Linked DNA regions of Homo sapiens: all the other regions are linked to region 2. Evidence: promoter capture Hi-C in human tissues and cell types (Jung and others, 2019). All regions are on one chromosome and are shown on one strand. The core of a region is centred on a gene start or on the middle of the fragment in contact, and the rest is flanking DNA. Distances in the headings are between cores, read along the strand shown.

Region 1 (2,996 bases), core at 179-2,678, 210 kb after region 2:
TGTTAACCAAGTATCTATTCTTTTATTTCAGCTGAAAATATTTGAATGTAGTATACCAAACAAGGGTTGGACACTTGTGGGTACTCCAGATATTGAATTATGTCTATGGAGAAGGGAAGGAACTGTGACTGGGGAGGGGGAACTTGGAGAACTTCTGAAATATCAGTAACATTAAAAGGAACATAACCTGGGCACGGTGGCTCACACCTGTAATCCCAGCACTTCGGGAGGCTGAGGCAGGCAGATCACCTGAGGTCAGAAGTTCGAGACCAGCTGACCAACATGGTGAAACCCTGTCTCTACTAAAAATACAAAAACATTAGCCAGGCGTGGTGGTGGGTGCCTATAATCCCAGCTACTCAGGAGGCTGAGGCAGGAGAATCGCTTGAACCTGGGAGGTGGATGTTGCAGTGAGCCAAGATTGCGCCATTGTACTCCAGCCTAGGCGACAAGAAGAAAAGTCAGTCTCAAAAAAAAAAACAAAATAAACGTATATGTTTTGTACTTTTCTGTAAGTATGGCATATTTTATATTTAAAAAAGAAAAAGCATGGAATTAGTAAAATGATAGATATATGCCTTAAATATGTTTAATCTAAAGCTCACCAATATACTTGTACCTGCCAATCTTTTAATATTATGATTTATCTTTTTGTTCTTTGTTTTTACTATGCATTATATACTTTTAATGATTTATCTGTTGTACAGAGTTCAGAGTAATCTTTCTTTACACAAATCACTTTCGTTGTGTATCATTTATAATTTCTAGTTTTGAGGGTTTTTTCATGAAGAAAAAATATTCTGGACATGTACAACGTTTTCACAATCTTGCACAGTTGTTATACCTTTGCCTCACCTAATAGCAATTTTGTTTACTCCTGAGTCTTTCCAACAATTTTTTAGACTTATTTTATCAGTTTATTTCATAGGTAATTAAATTATAGTTATAAATATAAATGGCACAAATATTGTACAGTCTGTTCTTGGAGGCATACAGATGAATTGTTGGAGCAGAAATGTAGAGGAGTATTAGAGAGCACCTACTGGCTGTGTGTGTTCACATTGCCTTTGGCATTGGTCACTATGCTTGAGAGCAAGGGTGGATAAACATTTTCTGTAAGGGGCCAGATGGTAAATATTTTAGGGTTTGTGAGCCCATATTGTCTGTGTCACAGCTACTCAACTCTAGTGCAAAAGTAGCCATAGATAATAAGTAAGCAAACGGGTGTGGTTGTATTGCAGTCAGACTTTCTTTACCTTACCAAGCTGCGGGCTGGATTTGGCTCATAGGCTCTAGTTTGCGGATCCTGATTTATAAAATGAAGCAAGTGTTAGTTAACCTGGAGTATCACTTAAAACAGAAGACTTTTAAGAGTGCTTCTCCTCTGTCTCTGAAGAAAGTCCTAAATAAATTTTAATTTGTAAAATAACAATCTCTTAGCTTGGAATCAAGTGGGAAGTGGAATACACTGTTAATTTCACAACAAATAAGGACTTTTATTATGTCATGCTAAAGAATAAATATAAATTGTAAGAATAAATATATTGCAAATATTGGCCAAAGGAAGTTTAATTGGTTGGGAGAATAAAGGTATCATTGTAGAGGAAAATAGATTGTAGTGTTTGTAAATAATAGTTTAAATATCAGTGATAATTATTATCCCCAATATTAAGTGCAAAAGAGCCTATAACTTATTATCCTGTAAGAATTAGGATGTGTTACAACTAGAAGAAAAATCATAACAGGCAACAAATATTTGTAATTGAATGCTGAGAGTTCCAAAAGATTATGATTTGCTAAGAGAAAAGAATTAGAGTACAAGTCTTAATGCTAGGATCCTCTGATCTATAATCAGATTCAACACACTGAAAATATGGAATTCTTAAAGCAACTGGTTTTAAAATTGCATTACTGATAATGTAGCCTCTTCCAGTTCAGTTCCACACCTTCAAAATGTATTCAGAGAAACTCAGTCCTCAACAATAAAATTCTATCCGTGCTTTCTCCCAGAGCACCTGCCCAGTAATAATAAAGTATTTGTCATCCTTGCAGTACAGTTTCATGGTCTCCAGTTTCTCCCTATAAACATTTGCAGGTTGGTTGAAAGCGTGAAAGATAAATCTTTGTTATTATAATTATGGAATATTGCCAAGGAATAATCCCCTACTCCAGCCAGTTTTCTTCATAGAGATTATCTGTCACATGTGTTTTATTGGCCATTTATGCAGAATAAGATTGAAATTAGATTACATCATATATTGCCTGCCATCCTTTTTTATCTTTTCTGAATAATCAGCTACGTTAAAGCTTTTAGCCTTATCTTTTTTGTGTCTTGGGACATGTGTTTAATTAAAAAGCAACTTATTCAGAGTTCAGAGTTTTCTTAGTTTGACTTTTCCCCCATATAACGGTATTAAGATTTGTCCATGGAAACCTGTCCCATTGTAGTACTGTATTCCCCATTAGACATGAACTCCTATTAGGAAGATTATGGAGAGATCATGTTAAATGGGTTAGGATATTGTAGAGATAATGTAAACTGATTTAGGCATGGTTTTATCCCTTTGTGATAGAAAGGGTATTTAAAAACTGAAATGAGTTGGATGACTGAAGTAGTTGGCTTTTTTTGTTTTGTTTTGTTTTAAGTTTTTTTTTCTTTTATTATTATACTTTAAGTTTTAGGGTACATGTGCACATTGTGCAGGTTAGTTACATATGTATACATGTGCCATGCTGGTGCACTGCACCCACTAACTTGTCATCTAGCATTAGGTATATCTCCCAATGCTATCCCTCCCCCCTCCCCCCACCCCACCACAGTCCCCAGAGTGTGATATTCCCCTTCCTGTGTCCATGTGAGCTCATTGTTCAATTCCCAACTATGAGTGAGAATATGCGGTTGGAAGTTCTGGCCAGGGCAATTAGGCAGGAGAAGGAAATAAAGGGTATTCAATTAGGAAAAGAGGAAGTCAAATTGTCCCTGTTTGCAGACGACA
Region 2 (3,147 bases), core at 18-2,517:
GATTAACAGCCAGGTCATTCACAATTCAGTGTTCAGTTTTTCTATTGGGGTCCAGCGTCTCGGAGTAACATCCCTTTGTGTCATGGATACATCCAACTCTGGACTTCCCCATTAGATTCTGGCAAAAGCCCCACCAGAGCCCCCGCCAGAGCCAGAAGGCGGTCCCTCAGGTCAGGAAGGGGTTTTCCTGCCGCCGGAGCCGCGACCTCGGCTAGCGGTGGAGCGGGGCTTCGGCGGAGGGAGGTGCGGGGCCTCGGCGGAGGGAGGTGCCGGGGGCGCCGCCCACGGCCTCCTGGGCTCGGCGCGCGGGGCCGGGCTGCGGTTGGCCACAAGAGGCATCCATCTTCCCGGACCAGCCAGGCGTTTCCTAGCGGAGCAGGGGCGGGAGCTTGGACGGAGAAGGGCACAGGCCGGAGCGCGGTCCGCTCCCGCGAGCCTGGCCCCGCCTGGCGGAGCCCCGAGGAGCCACCGCCCGCAGATCGCTAGCCGGGCGCCCGCGAGGCGCGAGCCGTGTGCGCACCCTCAACTTTGCTGCCGCCGGGGGCGCGGCTCCCGCGTGCGTGTGCGAGTGTGCCTGTCACTAGCGGCCTCCTGGGGGCAGCAGCGGAAAGGGGGACGCAGAGAAAGGCAGCCTCGGCGCACCGCGGCCAGGGAGGCAGAGGCCCCTCGCGGCGCCGGCTCTGGAGACCTAAACTCCGCCGGGGCTGTGCCCAGGGCGCGTCTGAGCGTCGCCGCCTTCACCCTCTCAGCAGCAGCGGGGACTCGCGTCAGGACTGCGATTCCTTTCGCCTGCCGAGCTGTAGCGGCAGTGTCTGCGGGCAGAGGAGCGGCGGCCGTGGCAGCAGCATCCCCAGCCCGGGCGGGACCCTTGAGCGCCGGAGCCGACAGCTGGAGGCAGGAAGGGAGGGTTGTGGCGCCCGAGCTGGGCGCGTTCCCAGCGCCTGCCCTCCGCCGCTGGCCCTGTCCCGGGCGCCCGGTGCGGGTCTCGAACAATGGTGCGGAGCGCCGGCGCGAGCCCCGCGCCCGCCCAGCGGCCGTAGAGGAAGTGGCCGGGCTCCCGGCGAGGTGGGCAGGGAGACGTCCCCCGCCACTCGCTGGCTGGAGTTTGCCTGCGCGTCCGGCCTCTCCCCCGGGGATCCCCTGGGATTACCGACGGAGCTCAATTTCGAGAGTATGGTGCCAGCGCCCGGGCTAATCTAGTCCTCTCTACTCGCTCTTTTTCCCCTCCTCCTCCTACTTCTCCTCTCCCTCCTCCCTTCCCTCGGGTCGGCGCTGCCTCTGGATTGCCTGCGTGTGGGAGTACAACTCTGCCTCTCCAAGGAGAACGGGTTGTGACCACTGAACAAAACTTGCCCATTGAAAGCAAACCCGGAACAGCTGGATAATGTCCACCCCGAGCCGATTCAAGAAGGACAAAGAGATCATAGCCGAGTATGAAAGTCAAGTCAAAGGTAAGGATGGGAGCGGCTGCCTTGCTCCTTTTGTGTGCCTTCTTGTCATTGTGCTCGTGGAGTTGCGTATCTAACTTGGTGTCTGCGTGGGAGGAAGGTGGTGAGGGGACAGCTCGAGCCCTGTCTGAGCCACCTGGGCTTCCTACAAGCCAGTTAGTTCCCAGTTGCAATCCCAGTCCCGTCAAACCCACGGGGAGCTGGAAACTGGGTGACTTCCCCCGCCAGCTGCCAGCCCGCATCTCTAATGGGGAGAGAACTGGCTTTAACTTAACCACCTTCAGCTGGGCAACTTATGTGGGAAGCAGGCAGCAGTGGAGGATCCTGTCCAGCTATTATTATCACCATCATTATTCTTTTTAAATGGTAGGATTGTCACTACGTAATTTTTTTACGGAATGATTTTTGTAAAGTCTGTGAACCCCAAGCGGTCTACAGCCTCATTGAGTGCAGGCTATTTCAGATATTTACACCACTCACCTATTTACACCGCTCACAATTTATTAGGGCGAGACCCCTTTTATTAAATAGCTCCCTAAAAGCCTGGCAGTTAAACGAAGCAGTGACTAGTGGAATCTGACTCTTCCTTTATAATGGGCCAGAATTCATTGCCATCTTTCACACTCACATGGGAATATTGCTTTATCATTTTCTGGAAGCCACTTGCATGTAAAATGAAGGTTTGAATATTTGAGTAGTAGTTTCAGTCCATTTACATTGTCAACTAATGAAGGAAACCTAATTAAGGCTGATTATTTTTACTTTCTATGCCTTGTGATTAAAAATATATATATTTTCTCTCCAATACAAGTATTTTGTTTTGTTACTGAAGTGTTTCGTAAACATATGTGTTACTTGAATTTTTTCCTCCTCTTTCCTGAGGTCTCAGGAGTAGCTTTCCTGATTGAGACAATGGATGGAATGTTGGGACCGCCACTGTTCTTTGACACATTCAATGCAAAGTTCATAAAGATTGCTATGTATACACCTGTGTTTATCTATGCACAGTCTTATGAAAGGGCTACGGAGAGAGGCATTACTGTACTTCCCTTGAGCAAGGGAGGAGCAGCCTGAGTGTTCTTTTGTGTGGTCAAGTTGTAAAAATGCCTGGAGTCCTGTGAGAGGACCTGGTGGAGAAATCCTGTATCATCCAGTGTGAATACAGACCAACTCATTGTGGACACTGCAGACACAATATGCAAGATAACTTAGGTTATCTTTAGGAGGACCCCTATAATGGAGTTATCTATAGGCTGACCCCTATAATGTGTTCAGGAGACACAGATTTTTGTCTGCTTGGAATTGTGATAATTTATACTTACAGGAACTTGTTTCATTGCTATGGAAGTTGTGTTAGCAGATAAGTAATTATTTTCTTAGAGCCAGGTAAACTTTCTAATGAGACTAACCTTTCTTTTTTCAGTGAGTCCAACATAGCCTAAAACCTTTCATTCCAGGGCAGTACTCTTGTTCACAACCACCATTTCTCTGTGCAGTTTTTCCACATGGCTCTTTGTGGCAGGTCTTCAAGGGGTGGCGGTCTGGTTTTTCTGCCGCCTAGAGCACTAATTGGCAAATGCACTTCCAAATGTTGATTTCTTTATGTTTGCTGTAAGGTCACTTGCCAGTGATCAAGTCCTTATTTGAAAATCAGCGAAATGGGATGTGTTGCAATGTGTCTATCAAATTCAAACGGAAG
Region 3 (3,204 bases), core at 697-3,196, 230 kb after region 2:
GGTCTCTCTTTTCCCACTTTTTCCTCTGCCTGGAATGCCCTTTTTTTCAGTGAACACCTACTCACCTTTTAATACATACTCAAAATTTATCTTTTGAATGGCACCTTCCCTGACTTCTCAGACAACACAGTATACTGAGTTTTGCCTGTTTTCTTACATGTTTGTCAATTTCAAGAGTTTAATTGAATAAAGAAATAACAGCATTTACTTTGTAGTATTTTAATTACTAAATATTGGCACAAGTAAAGGCTTCCATTTTTTAAAAGTATTATAAATATAAAATTTATGGAGATGTAGATAACATAGTCAAATATTTACCTTCAGTATTCAGCTATTAATTTAGTTATGCACAAATATTTTAAATCACATTATATAAAACTTTTAATTTAGAAATACTATATTTTTCTCATTTTCACAATTTTATGAAGGCTCTTCATATATCCTGATATTGTGTTTGTCATTACCAGAGCCACATTTTGAGTCTGCCGAGACCACCTCGGTCGGGGAGACCCTAACCCAGCGGCGCTAGAGAAATTAAAGACACACGCACAGAAATATAGAGGTGTGAAGTAGGAAATCAGGGGTCTCACAGCCTTCAGAGCTGAGAGCCCCAAACAGAGATTTACCCACATATTTATTAACAGCAAGCCAGTCATTAGCATTGTTTCTATAGATATTCGATTAACTAAAAGTATCCCTTATGGGAAACGAAGGGATGGGCCGAATTAAAGGAATAGGTTGGGCTAGTTAACTGCAGCAGGAGCATGTCCTTAAGGCACAGATCGCTCATGCTATTGTTTGTGGCTTAAGAATGCCTTTAAGCAGTTTTCCGACTTGGGCGGGCCAGGTGTTCCTTGCCCTCTTGCGGTAAACCCACAACCTTCCAGTGTGGGTGTTATGGCCATCATGAACATGTCACAGTGCTGCAGGGATTTTGTTTATGGCCAGTTTTGGGGCCAGTTTATGGCCAGATTTTGGGGGGCTTGTTCCCAACAGAGTCATCAAGTACACTTTTCTCAGAGTATACCATCTTCACATCTGTTTGTTTGAAATACAGTGCTTTTAAAACCTGTGCGTGATACTGTCATTAGAAATTTGTCTACAAGCTACAAGAGCCTATTTGACTAGTGTAGGATGGTGACTCTTTTAATTCAGTCTATAGATATTTGATTATGACCTCCTTAAAGTAATTAATTACAGTATTTTTAATGGTCATTAATATGCTTTTTTTCCAACAGTATCTACTCTTTGCATTGTGCATAACCCCAGGAATGATTATTGTCTATTAAATTTCTTTCCCTTCTTTTTTTAATATTAATTCCATCACATGACCTTCTAAGCATCCAAACTAGTACTAATTGCTACTGTTTCTTTCCCAAACATTATTTTGTTCAAAAAAAAAAAAAAGTAATTGAAAAGATTTCCACTTCCTGTAATGATGGACTGGGTCACTCAACTGATTCTTTCAAAGTTCATTTTCTAGGACAAGATGCATGGCCAAGCCTGAAACCTGTGACACAGGGAACCATATCTTCCCAAAAGGAAGAGCATCCAATATTTTGAACAGTAATAAAATCCAGAGATTCTGAGCTATTAGTGCCCCTAATGGTTTGGGAAAATAAACATTCTCTTTGGAGGATAACCTCACCTTTGACCTCAAGTAACTCTACAAAAAATATCTAGCAAAGATAATTAGACAATGAGGAGATAAGAAACCATGAGTGATAGCCAGAAGAAATAATAGACAATAGAGACACACCCACAGGAACTCCAGATATTGGGATTATCAGAAATAAATGACAAAAGAACTATTTACAATGTTCAAGGAGGTTTTTAAAAGCCAAGCTTAGATTTCATCAGGAAATCATAAGCACTAAAATAACAGATTTGAAAATGAGCTACATAGGAATTCTAGCACTGAGAAATAACCAAAATTAAGAAAGCAGTGGGTGAGTTTAACATCAGGTAGAGCTAAAAAATAAATCATGAAAGCAGACAAATCAGAAGAAATAATAAAAACGCAGCATCAAAAACAAAAGATAATAAAATATGGAAAAGAAGAATAAGAGATATAGAGAACACAGTAATGTCTAATATACTAATTGAACTCCCAGAAAGAAAAAAAAATTTTTTTTTTTGAGACAGAGTCTCACTTTTTCGCCCAGGCTGGAGTGCAGTGGCACGATCTCAGCTCACTGCACCCTCTGCCTCCTGGGTTCAGGCAATTCTTCTGACTCAGCTTCCCGAGTAGCTGGATTACAGGCACATACCACCACGCCCAGCTATTTTGTATTTTTAGTAGAGACAGGGTTTCACCATATTGGCCAGGCTGGTCTCGAACTCCTGACCTCAAGCGATCCACCGCCTCAGCCTCCCAAAGTGCTGGGATTACAGGTGTGAGTCACCACGCCCCGCTCAGAAAGAAAAATTAAAGAATATAGAGTCAATATTTGAAAAGATAAAAGCTGCAAACTTACTAAAACCTATGAAAAACATCACACAAATTCAAGCAGTCCAAGAAATTCCAGGCAGAATATATTTTTTAAATCCTTACCTAGATATATTACAGTGAAATTGTAGAAACCCAAAGATGAATGGAAAATTTTTAAAGCAGCTGGAAAAAGAAAGCAGATTTTATTCAAAGCAATGACAGACTGATGGTAACCTTCTCACTCAACAGGAACATAGAAGCCACAACAAAGTACAGTGATATATTTCTAATATACAAAAAGAAAATAACTGCTGCACAGAAAAAGATATTTAGTAAATGAAGGTGAAATAAAAGACGTTGTCAAGTCAACAAAACAGACACATACTAAAAAGAACTTCTAAAGGGTACACTTAAAATATAAGCACTCGACATCAAAGAATGTAATAAATACATGGGTGATGCTAAGTGAATCTTGACTACATAAAATAATAATGTCTTAAATTTATATATTAATATTTATATATATTCTATTATAATATATTACAAAAATAGCATATAAATCAGGAGGAGTAAATGAAGTTAAGGTGTTCTAAACTCTTTACATTGTGTGACAGAAGGAAAAAGCTATCAATTTACATTATACTTTGATAAGCAAAGGTAGAATATGACCTTCAGTGAATAAAAAGACTACTAGGAGATTAATAAATAAATAAGCTCCTAACAGATAACATAAAGCAGTATCTTTATGGCTATGAGATAGGAAAATATTTCTT

The links. Contacts are between HindIII fragments. The study calls those that stand out against the background at their distance.
Region 1: a contact is called between a fragment that was not itself captured here and the fragment with the promoter of SRGAP1 in region 2, in 1 of the 25 tissues and cell types used here (dorsolateral prefrontal cortex).
Region 3: a contact is called between a fragment that was not itself captured here and the fragment with the promoter of SRGAP1 in region 2, in 1 of the 25 tissues and cell types used here (hippocampus).

What each region holds. Positions count from the first base shown.
Region 1 is chr12:64,052,087-64,055,082 of GRCh38, forward strand. The region is part of intron 6 of SRGAP1 (SLIT-ROBO Rho GTPase activating protein 1); the gene reads left to right. Among named protein-coding and RNA genes, the nearest start is that of KICS2, 170 kb to the right of the region's middle. The HindIII fragment of the contact is 3,643 bases long and covers 1-2,996 here.
Region 2 is chr12:63,843,433-63,846,579 of GRCh38, forward strand. SRGAP1 (SLIT-ROBO Rho GTPase activating protein 1) reads left to right here and starts at 1,268. Exons shown (of 22, transcript NM_020762.4): 1 at 1,268-1,451. The coding sequence starts at 1,385. RefSeq lists silencers at 201-620, 681-740, 851-1,110 and enhancers at 273-774, 775-1,274. The HindIII fragment of the contact is 18,473 bases long and covers 1-3,147 here.
Region 3 is chr12:64,074,527-64,077,730 of GRCh38, forward strand. All of the region lies in intron 8 of SRGAP1 (SLIT-ROBO Rho GTPase activating protein 1), which reads left to right. Among named protein-coding and RNA genes, the nearest start is that of KICS2, 150 kb to the right of the region's middle. The HindIII fragment of the contact is 7,857 bases long and covers 1-3,204 here.